Regions from separate parts of the Homo sapiens genome. Here all the other regions are linked to region 2. Evidence: promoter capture Hi-C in 16 types of primary human blood cells and fetal thymus (Javierre and others, 2016). All regions are on one chromosome and are shown on one strand. Each heading gives the region's core, a stretch centred on a gene start or on the middle of the fragment in contact. The rest is flanking DNA. Distances are from core to core; before and after follow the strand shown.

The links. Contacts are between HindIII fragments. The CHiCAGO score rates a contact against its expected background, and 5 or more counts as called.
Region 1: the fragment with the promoter of TMCO1 here is called in contact with a fragment that was not itself captured in region 2 in 1 of 17 cell types (fetal thymus); the score reaches 5.1 in fetal thymus.
Region 3: a contact is called between the fragment with the promoter of MGST3 here and a fragment that was not itself captured in region 2, in 1 of 17 cell types (non-activated CD4 T cells). The highest score is 6.8, in non-activated CD4 T cells.

Annotation. Positions count from the first base shown.
Region 1 is chr1:165,766,959-165,770,320 of GRCh38, reverse strand. It overlaps TMCO1 (transmembrane and coiled-coil domains 1), which reads left to right and starts at 1,453. Exons shown (of 7, transcript NM_019026.6): 1 at 1,453-1,639; 2 at 2,052-2,129. The coding sequence starts at 1,570. TMCO1-AS1 (TMCO1 antisense RNA 1) reads right to left here and starts at 1,392. Exons shown (of 3, transcript NR_125374.1): 1 at 946-1,392. RefSeq lists enhancers at 490-1,165, 1,166-1,842. The HindIII fragment of the contact is 3,297 bases long and covers 983-3,362 here.
Region 2 is chr1:163,323,146-163,326,495 of GRCh38, reverse strand. It overlaps NUF2 (NUF2 component of NDC80 kinetochore complex), which reads right to left. Exons shown (of 14, transcript NM_145697.3): 2 at 322-464. The coding sequence starts at 444. Among named protein-coding and RNA genes, the nearest start is that of NUF2, 2.9 kb to the right of the region's middle. The HindIII fragment of the contact is 2,653 bases long and covers 81-2,733 here.
Region 3 is chr1:165,629,884-165,633,477 of GRCh38, reverse strand. It overlaps MGST3 (microsomal glutathione S-transferase 3), which reads right to left and starts at 2,244. Exons shown (of 6, transcript NM_004528.4): 1 at 2,185-2,244. RefSeq lists enhancers at 1,570-1,739, 2,793-3,323 and a silencer at 2,170-2,409. The HindIII fragment of the contact is 6,286 bases long and covers 907-3,594 here.

The sequences.
Region 1 (3,362 bases), core at 204-2,703, 2.4 Mb before region 2:
GTAGTGTTTAGGAGAATTATATATTTAAGTGCAGTACAGTTTAAAAGAACCAATGAGGGCCGGCCACGGTGGCTCACGCCTGTATTCCCAGCACTTTGGGAGGCCGAAGTGGGTGGATCTGAGGTCAGGAGTTCAAGACCAGCCTGGCCAACATGGCAAAACCCCGTCTCTACTAAAAATACAAAAAATTAGCTGGGCGTGGGGACGGGCACCTGTAGTCCCAGCTACTTGGGAGGCTGAGGCAGGAGAATGGCTTGAACCCGGAGGCAGAGGTTGCAGTGAGCCGAGATTGTGCCATTGCACTCCACCTGGGCAACAAGAGTGAAACTCCATCTCAAACAAACAAAAAAACACCAATGATAGGAGGAAGTACAAGAGGATACAGCTCAGCCAGCTTCCAGGTTTTCACCCATACACACACACACCCCAGTGTGAAAAAGCTGAAACCGTCTACAATGGCTGAAACCACGCTGCTGAGACATTTTTGAATTTTAATTAGTTAGCAACACTTATAAATTAAGTTTCACATAAAACCCAGGATTTCTGGATTTTCCTGAGAAACGAAGACATCTCAGAAACTGGGTGCTCATTCTCCTAGAGAAATGGGTTGGATTTGGGTATCAAATTCTCCTTTCAGATGAACTTAATGCTCACTTATCCATCGTAGTAACTTCCACCATTTGTTTAGGCTCAGCTTGCATAAGATAATTTATTTTCTCTCGCCAGTCTAGGCATCTGGGTTTAAGACCCCTTCTCTAGATACATTACTCACTGCACTATCACACTATGAATTTTCAGGCATCCGTGCTTTGACTTCCACTTTGCCTAGAAAGTCCTTTGCTATCTCCAAAAGTACTCCTACTCCCCTAAGGCACTGCTTCAATTCCTTTCATTAGCTTCTTCTGACCACTCTCTCAACCGTGTCACGCAGCACTGTGGTAATACCTCTATTAAAACCCTTATCAGAGCGTATGCACAAGCTTCTCCTCTTCGCGCTGACGTTCGCTCCTTGAGGCCAGCGGCCCACAACTAACTCATTTCGCGGTTCCAGCTTCACGTCCATGCCCTGGCACCTACACCCAGTCGTTCAGTACCTTTGCGGAAGTCAGTCTTCTTACTTCACGGCAAACCCAAGCTAAACTAATATTACGACCACAGAAGTTGGGCTGAGGTAGAAGTCAAGACTATCCCAATAACTGGATTCTGGCCGAGAAAAAGGCGCGCGCCAGCACCCCAGTCAGTAAAATCTACCGGGCAAAGTTCGCCGCCGCCACTATCCTCCTCTGGCTCTGAAATAGTTCCAATTCTCGCGAGATTCGGCCTGACTACCAGCCCTTCAGCTCCAGTGAGTTGCGGGTTGGTTTCCTCTAGACTCTCGTGGCCACACCGTTCTCCGATACGAGCCTTTCCGGTGCTATGCCCCGGAAGCGGAAGTGCGATCTTCGGGCTGTCAGAGTTGGTCTGTTACTCGGTGGTGGCGGAGTCTACGGAAGCCGTTTTCGCTTCACTTTTCCTGGCTGTAGAGCGCTTTCCCCCTGGCGGGTGAGAGTGCAGAGACGAAGGTGCGAGATGAGCACTATGTTCGCGGACACTCTCCTCATCGTTTTTATCTCTGTGTGCACGGCTCTGCTCGCAGAGGGTGAGAGCGGGTATTTCTCAGACGTTTGATCAGTCCCCGGGAGGAAGGGCCCCGGGGTCCCCTGTGCCACCAGGGGAAAGATCGCGAGCCTTACTTGCTTGAGAGGCTCATCTACTCCACTTCAGGGAATCTCTGGGCAACTCGTGAACAGGAGCAGGAGGGGAGTATGGAGTCGATTGCCGAGTTTTCTTTGGTCTCAGGTAGATTTCACTTGGGTATTTGTGGAGACACCTTCACATCATGTTACTGTTGTTTTGGCTGAAGAGTCAGTTGTATTAGCCTTTGAAAAAAGTTAACTATGGGTAAATACAAAGCGAAAAGTTGGAATTCCTCCTTCTCCAACAGTAACCACTTTGTTTGTTGTGATCATTCCAGTCATTTCTCTATTAACATGTTGCTTTTAATGTTTTAGGCATAACCTGGGTCCTGGTTTACAGGACAGACAAGTACAAGAGACTGAAGGCAGAAGTGGAAAAACAGAGTAAAAAATGTGAGTATGGCAACACATTAGAAATAATTTCAACACGTCAAGCTCATTAAGTCCATGTTCACAATAAATATTTTAAGAGCACCAGCTGATACAAAGATGAACCTGACTTGAAGCCTATTTAGAAATAGAAGACTTTTATGCAAAATGTGTAATACCAACTAGAGGGAAGTGAGGGGCGTAGCAGATACATGTTATGTGCTGTGGTGGTTCTAAAGAAGAGGTTCAATCTGGCGCAGTGGCTTACTCCTGTTAATCCCAGCACTTTGGAAGGCTGAGGCAGGACTGAACTTAGGGGTTTGACACCAGCCTGGGCAACATAGGGAGACCTCGTCCCTACAGAAAAAATTAGCTGGGTATGGTGGTACACACCTATAGTCCCAGCTATTTGGGAGACTGAGGCATGAGGATCCCTTGAGCCCAGGAGATTGAGGCTACAGTGGGCCACGATGGTGTCACTACACTGCCTCCTGGGCAATAGTGAGACTTGTCTTTAAAAAAAAAAGAAGAAGAGGCTTCATTCAGTTGTGAGGAACCATGGTAGCCTTCATGATGCTGATGGCCTTGCAGTTCCTTGTGGATAGTTAGAATTTGGATAGAGAATGAAATGGGGAAAGGAAATTCCAGGTAAAGAAATAACATATGAGCAAAAATATGGAAATCTTAACATTTAAGGCATGTTTGGAGGATGATATGTCATTATGACTGGTGTCAAGGTAAGTGGTGTCTTCAGAGATAAGCCGAGTTTCAGTTGGGTTAGAAAGTTGAAGAGGTGTTTAAGGAAAAGATTAAAAACAAGAAGGGTTTGTTACCTTTGAAATAAAGCAGGAATTCCACAGGACTCAGCTAAAGGTACAGGGTGAATGGTTCCTTATAGGCCTGATTTAGTTTTCTCTCTTCTTTTTTTCCTTATAAGGATTAAATATAACTTTTGTTTCTTAGAATTCCTACAACTTTCTGTATTCTGTGACTTTTTCTTATATCTTCATAGGGGTTTGAAGTTTTTTTTCTTAAATTACCATATTTGATCTACACAGCAACCATTTGTGGTTACTCGTATAAATATTACCTCCATGTCATAGGAAAGAAAATTGAGCCTCAGGATGATAATGACAACTTACGTCACAGAGCAAACAAAGAATTAGAGACCAGACTCAGGCTTTTAAAATTACAGCTTACTGTTCCTTAATTTACTCAGTGTTGATTATGTACCTCAGCATATCTGGGCCAAACTCG
Region 2 (3,350 bases), core at 158-2,657:
ATCAATAAATGATACTCTCAGACCACCATTCCAATAATAATAATAAAAAATTTAATATACTTTAATATGGTTTAGAAGCTTTTTTTTTTTTAAGAAAACGACTATATTAAAGAATTGAATCCTAATGGGAATGTAGAAGTCACCACACATATAAACTTAGTGTTATTTTTAAATTATGCTAGGTGAGAGATTCTCTCTCAATGAAAATGACTGGTCTCCATCAAATAGGAGGCCATATCCCTTTCTTGCCACACAATAGACCTAGTAGCTTACTTTTTCCCTAAATACCATTATCCACATGCAAACGTAACCACCTTTTACCTTTGGATTTGGATAAAGATCATTCTTGGTGAGGTTTTTACCATCAGCTCCTGTTAAGATCTTATTGCGAATATGAATCACAATCTCAGCTACATTATATCTGGGGAAAGACAAAGTTTCCATCTTGGAAGTTTCCTGTTAATCTGAAGGAAGAAAAAACAATGAGAAATACCACATGATCAGTAGTTCTCATTATCTGGAAACTAATAAACATAATGACAAAATGAGCCAAAGTTGAACTATTCATAGTAGTGTTAACTATCATCAAATATCTTAGTAAGATAAATACAAGTATTTATATATGTATCCTAAAATTACTTTTATTCTAAGGTGACACAGTTATTTTCTGCTAATTTTCTAGTGTCGTTCTCTTTTGTAGGAAGAGAACAACACATTTGGGAAGGAGGACTTTGGTTGAATAGATAGATGAGAAACCACGTGCTTCTCTTTTACATTTGAGGGCCACGGAGCTTAACAAGACCAATCCTAATAATTAATTCTCAAAGCAAGGCATATAGGCAACATCATCAGCAGAAGCTATATATAAACAACAGTAATATAGGGCATAAAAAATTGTATTCAGTTTTGACATCCTATTCATTACATATATAGTGAGATGGCTAATAAGGTTGTAGATGCAAATAGAAGAGAGAAAAAAAACTGAGTAAGAATAGATGATATAATTGATAGGAAATCCTATCACCAGAGTGAGAATTTTAAGAAAACAAAAAACCATTTCTCCTAATGTCTTCACGTAGTGAGTTATTCCTACCTGTGTCCCCCTAGCGTAGTAGTTCTCTAACTTTATCACCAAGGGCACATCTGGCAATGGCTGAAGACATTTTTGATTGTCAGCACAGGAGTGTGGGTGCAACTAGAATCTAGTGGATAAAGACCAGGGATGCTGCCAAACATCTTACGATGTATAGGGTGGCCCCCAACAGCAAAGAATTATCCAGTTCAAAAGGTCAATAAATGCTGATGTTAAAAAACCCTGTACCTGTAATCTCAGCACTTTGGGAGGCCAAAGCATGTGGATCGCTTGAGCCCAGGAGTTTAAGACCAGCCTGGGCAACATGATGAAACCCTATCTCTACAAAACACATAAAAATTAGCCAGGCATGGTGGCCTATGCCTGTAGTCCCAGCCACTTGGGAGGCTGAGGTGGGAGGATCACTTGAGCCTGGGAAGCAGAAGTTGCAATGAACTGAGATCGCACCACTGCACTCCAGCCTGGGTGACAGAGACCCTGTGTCAAAAAAAAAAAAAAAAAAGAAAGAAAAGAAAAGAAACCTTGTCCTAGAGCCTTGCATTTACCCCTGTTATAATACTTGTTACAATGTACTGGAATTATGTTTAAAGAACTCTGACACCACATTGTGAGATTCCGGTAAGTAAGGATCTTTTCATTTTCTTCATATCTCTCCCTGTAACCACAAAAATAGCAGTAGTAACAGCAAGAGAGAAATGAGCAGCAATAGCAGCCACTGTTATTGCTCTCAGCCACTCCCTTAAATACCTGTTGTGTTACCTTCAGATCCCCTACTCTCCAGTGAAGCAAAATGATCTCGGAGACCCAATGTGAATATATTCAATTTTGCAAACAAATTGAAATGGGCCACAATTCTGACAATCTATTTCTTTAGGCTCCTAATTTTTTTAGAATTTTAGGGTTAAAAAGGGGAGCTTTGGCAACTTGCCTAACCTCTAATAAATGGAAGCAATTCTAAACAACCACTAACAAATAACTTCCCAATTCAACTTGAACATGTGACAACATCACAGAATTCACTCTCAATGCAACTTTTTCCCACTTTATTATGGTTCCAAATTAAATAACTCTTCCTCATAGTGTGTGGAAATATGTTTTGTGGTAATTTTACCTCCTGGTCCTATGTAGTCACTGCAACTAAATAGAATATATTAATCTCTGTTTACATGACACCATTTTCAAAAACATGAAGAAAGCTATTACACCTCTGCTAAGCCCTCCCTTCTTTAAAGTAAGTATAATTTCTTTATGTATGGCTATATGTAACTTCAAAATACTCCTTATATGACATTGTTTTAGAAACTACCATCTTATTCATCTTCCTCTAACACACACTATTTTGTAAATGTCTTCTTAAAATGTAGTGCCCAAACTGAACACGACACTCCAGATATGGTTGGTCTAGGGCACAGTATAATGGCCTCTGCTGTAGCACTTACTGATCAACTGAAACTCCAAGAACTTCATCATGACCGTCTTGCATCAAGGCGGCTTCTCCCTGTTCTTTTTTTCCCCCTTTCCCTCTCTTTTTTTTTGGTCACCATCTGCTGTGTCACTTGTGTTCTTGTTGTATAAATTGATTATTTGAAACTTAAGCAAGGATTTGTACTTTCTACTATTAAATTTCATGATTGCAAGCTTTCCTTTTAGAGCTAGGACGTTTTGTCTATTTTTTTTTCTTTGAGGCAGGGTCTCAGTTTGTCATCCAGGCTGGAGTGCAGTGTGGCACAATCACAGCTCACTGCAGCCTCGACCTCCCAGGCTCAAGCTATCCTCCTGCCTCAGCCTCTCAAGTAGCCAGGACGACAGCAGGCACACACTACCACGCCCTGTTAATTTGTGTGTGTGTGGAGATAGGGTCTCACTATGTTGCCCAGTCTGGTCTTGAACTTCTGGGCTCAAGTGATCCTCCCACCTCAACCTCCCAAAGTGCTGGGATACAAGCATAAGCCACCTTGCCAGGCCACAGAGCTGGGATCTTTTGGAATCCAGATTCTGATGCATCACATATTAGATGTTCCCTTCAGCATAAATATGCATTCTACATTTTCATCTAAGTCACAGCCTTAAAAACTGTTCATAAAAGGACTGGACCAAAGAAAGACTTCAGAAAAAGTCACTTTTCCAAAAAAGCTGCATCTGAATTAGAGAGTATTGCAATAGAAAGCGTAGGTGTAAAGTATCTTCATAATTATTATCACTTGTTCCTCTCTTCTCTAATGTTTGGCACTCTGCTATCAGATTAATCCTTATAAAA
Region 3 (3,594 bases), core at 995-3,494, 2.3 Mb before region 2:
AATTAATTTTTGCTTTAAAAAAATAAAAAAAAATGAAGGGTGGAAATAAGGCAACTAAATCGTAGAACGCAAGTTCCAGTTAATGAACAGATCAACTCTAGAAATAACTCAGAAGGTAACAGCAAGATCTATGATTCTAAAGGATAAAATCCTTAAAGGCATTTGCAAATGCATTTGAAAGATAGTACAATTTTCCTGTTGCCTAATTACAGCGTTTCTCCTCAGAGGCAGGTAGGCAGGTAGGTACTGTAAGAGCGAGTGACAGAAACTCAGGAATTTTATTTTACATAGCGATAATCTACTTGCTGCTAACTGCTAAATTTTTTGTTCAGGAAGATGGTAAGCTTACAGTAGCATTAATAAATTGAGCTGCAAAAACCGTAGCAGTATATTCTTCGAAACAAATATTGCTTTAAAATGCTAGATGGTTCATGGTCAATTGTGGTCGGTAATGGTGTTCTAAATATAGATTCAGAAGATTTAAGTATAAACATAGGGCACAATATGTTTAAATACAGATAGATGTGCAGTAGGCACTGAATTGCTTTTGACAGATTGATTTGACATCCACCTCATTCCAGACTGCTCCAGGGGCTTTTTAGCATTTCTCTGAATAGTGGGTAAAGCCCTTCTTTCCTGTATGTTCCTTCTCGGTGCTAATCTCCAGGCGAGGAGGATCTCTTCCAGGATTGTGTCTTTTCAGAACTCTAAGCCAACAGGAAGAAATCTAAATAAAGCGGAAGGCTGCCCTTCTCCAGTTTTGTTCCTTAATCTAAGGAGGCCCCTGTAGCGCAGTTTCTATAGTTGGCGACAGTCTCCCTGCAGATTTATATATAGTAACATTGGTTAAAAAAAATCACTTGACAAAGTTTTCTATTTCCGTAACATTGTGTCAGGAGGGAAGCTTAACGGAAAGTCTTCCCAGGGATGAAAGTATTTGTTTCTATTTTATATGTTAGTTTTAACTCCTTAAATTCATCTCCTATGAGAATAAACATTCTTGATCTGACTCAATGTGCTCTCTGAATTCACTGAAATAAAATATAGCCTGTAACTCTGACCAATAACCTGGGGTGCCTCCCAGAACTGCTGGCTCCAGGTGATCTACAGATTTCCCAAGAGAAGCGCTGCAGCTCCTACCCACCAGCAATCTAAAATCTGCAGCAATTCCGCAGGACCACACCTAGGCCCAACAGCACATACCTGCAGAGCCGGAAGCGCCTTCCCCTCCAGGGCATCTCCTGTCCCCAGGGAAGGAATTAAAGTTCTAACCCCTGCCTCTCCTTCTACCCATCCTAGTATCTGCTTTTCCTTTACCTCGTCTTCCACACTTACTTGCCCCCGACGCTATTATGTAGCTTGTAAACTCGTGACTCTCAAGGAAAGTATCAGCAGAAGCCACAACTTCGGGGAATGACTCACTAAGGAGTCTCCAGCGCCTTCCACCGCCCTGCAACTGCCCCACTACTGTAGCCCTACGGCTCCGTGCTGCCACCCCACATAAAGAAGGGGCATTTTCTGAAATCCAAGGAAGAACCTGAAGAGTCCCCCACCCGCCTAGAGGCGTCTCTTGCTCTAAGTCAGCGGTAGGAAATGACCACCTTCCCAGTACAAATGGACAAACGATTCTAAGAGGCAGGAGGAAAACAAACACAATTCCTTCAGAGGCTCTCCCGACCGTCCCTAGCAACACATCCCCACCGCAGCGGGTGCATTGCTCACAGGCCACTTCTGAAACCAGTGTTACTGATCAGGCCTGCACAACCACTCCCCCGGCAGTGTCCGGCTCGCCATCCTCTGCGCCGGAACAGCAGAGGGCAAGGTCGGGTGGTCTCCGGAAGGCAGAAAGGTGCCCCCAGACTGCAGAGCCCGGGGACAGCAGGAGAGGAAAGGAAGGAATGGAGGAAGGGTTGACCTTGAGAATTTTCCTGAGTTACACATAAATAGGTCGGGCCTCGCTTAGACGCTCCCAACCCACTCCACCAGGGAAAAGATGCAAGGCAAGGGGAGAGCAGAGAGGGTGGAAATTCAGATCGCTAATTTACTGATAAGGGTGGGGGGAGGTTAGAGACAGCGGGTCTCTATTCAGCTCGCATAGGCTGAAATATGGGAGTGCCCTGCGCAAAGGCTGAAGTGCCCCCGGCGGCCCGGTGCTCGTGGCTGCCCGCAGGTGCTAGCACTCACCTGGATCACCTTCGAACAGCTGGAGCAGAACAAAACTGCGCAGCGCGGTGTGGGTGCGGCGCCCTCGCCTGGGGCGGGGCTAGATGAGGCCAGAAGCAGGCCCCGCCCCAGCCGACCAGCGCGCGGCCACGCCCCCAAGGCGGGGCTCCTGGCGCTGGCGCGCGCTGTCTAAGTTGCCAACTCAGGGCCACTGGTTGGGAGGTGGAGGCCTAATTTTCTTCCTGCTCATGGTCGTCCAGCGATTTACTCCTCTCATTCTCAAAAACATATATCTACTCCCCCAGGTGCCTTCGTGGCCATCTTCCTAAACTGTCCCAGCCAGGTCATACCTCCCGGATTGGGTTTGCAGAACAGTGGGACGTGAATAATTTGTCCCCAGCAGAGCCACCGTAGCGGTTTTAGGCGCTCTGCTGTAAGGGCGAAGCACGGGCATGCAAGGCGCGTGCGCGAAAGTAGCCGCGCCTCAATCGATGTGTCCCTGAGGCGCGTAGCTGGGGCGTGGGCGGCGCTTGGTGTCCCAGGTTGCTACACTCCCGAAGTGAATGGATTTATCGCTGTTAGGGCCTTTTTGTTTAGGGCCTAACAAATATTGTTAGTTTTGCCGAGAGCTGGCGCCGAGCCCTGCCCTCGTGGTGGGCCGTACCCACGCCCCCTGAGCGCGGAGTCGCGTGGCTCCGGAGTTTTGTTTTTTTGAAAGGAGTCTCCCAATTGTCCGTGGAGTTTTTTTTGCGGCACATGGAGTCTCTGCCTTCGCGACCCAGACCTTTGATGTGAACACCTGCTCCCGTTACGCTCGGGTCCAGCGTCCGGGGCGGGGCTCGAGGCCGGGTGGAGGAGGGGTGGGGGCGGGGGTCTTGGTCTTGGGTGAGACCTGCAGATACGGTCGGGCTGAAGGAGTAGAACTGGCTTCTAAATGCCGGAAAATCCGAAGGAACTGACTGCAGAAGGCACGTTTCCAATTTTCGCGTGTTTTAAGTGCACCCTCCCGCCACCTCTCCTCTGGACATCCCTCATCCTTTTGAAGATTGCCACACCTGGGCCCCTCCTAGAGTCTCCTCTTTGGAGGATTCCTCACCTCCGAGAGAATGCTTAGGAACCCACCTGAATGATTCCAAGTTAAGGTGTGGAAAGGCAGAAATCTAGATTTTTGAAGGCTCTAGGTTATGTGTGTGTTTCTTTTTATTGGGTTGTCATATTTGCACATCTAGAGGTACTTTGAGAGCTCATTAAATCTTTACTGTTGCTGTTTCAGCAATTTCCAACCATTCTCATACTTTCTGTCATGTTGGGTTTCTGTCATGTTGGATGTAGAGAGGGCTTTGTTTTGCTTGAACATTGAAAGGAAGTAAGTTAGGGAGACAGTTTTGCATTATTGAGGCAAGTTTCTCCACTTGCTGGCTGTTCTACGTA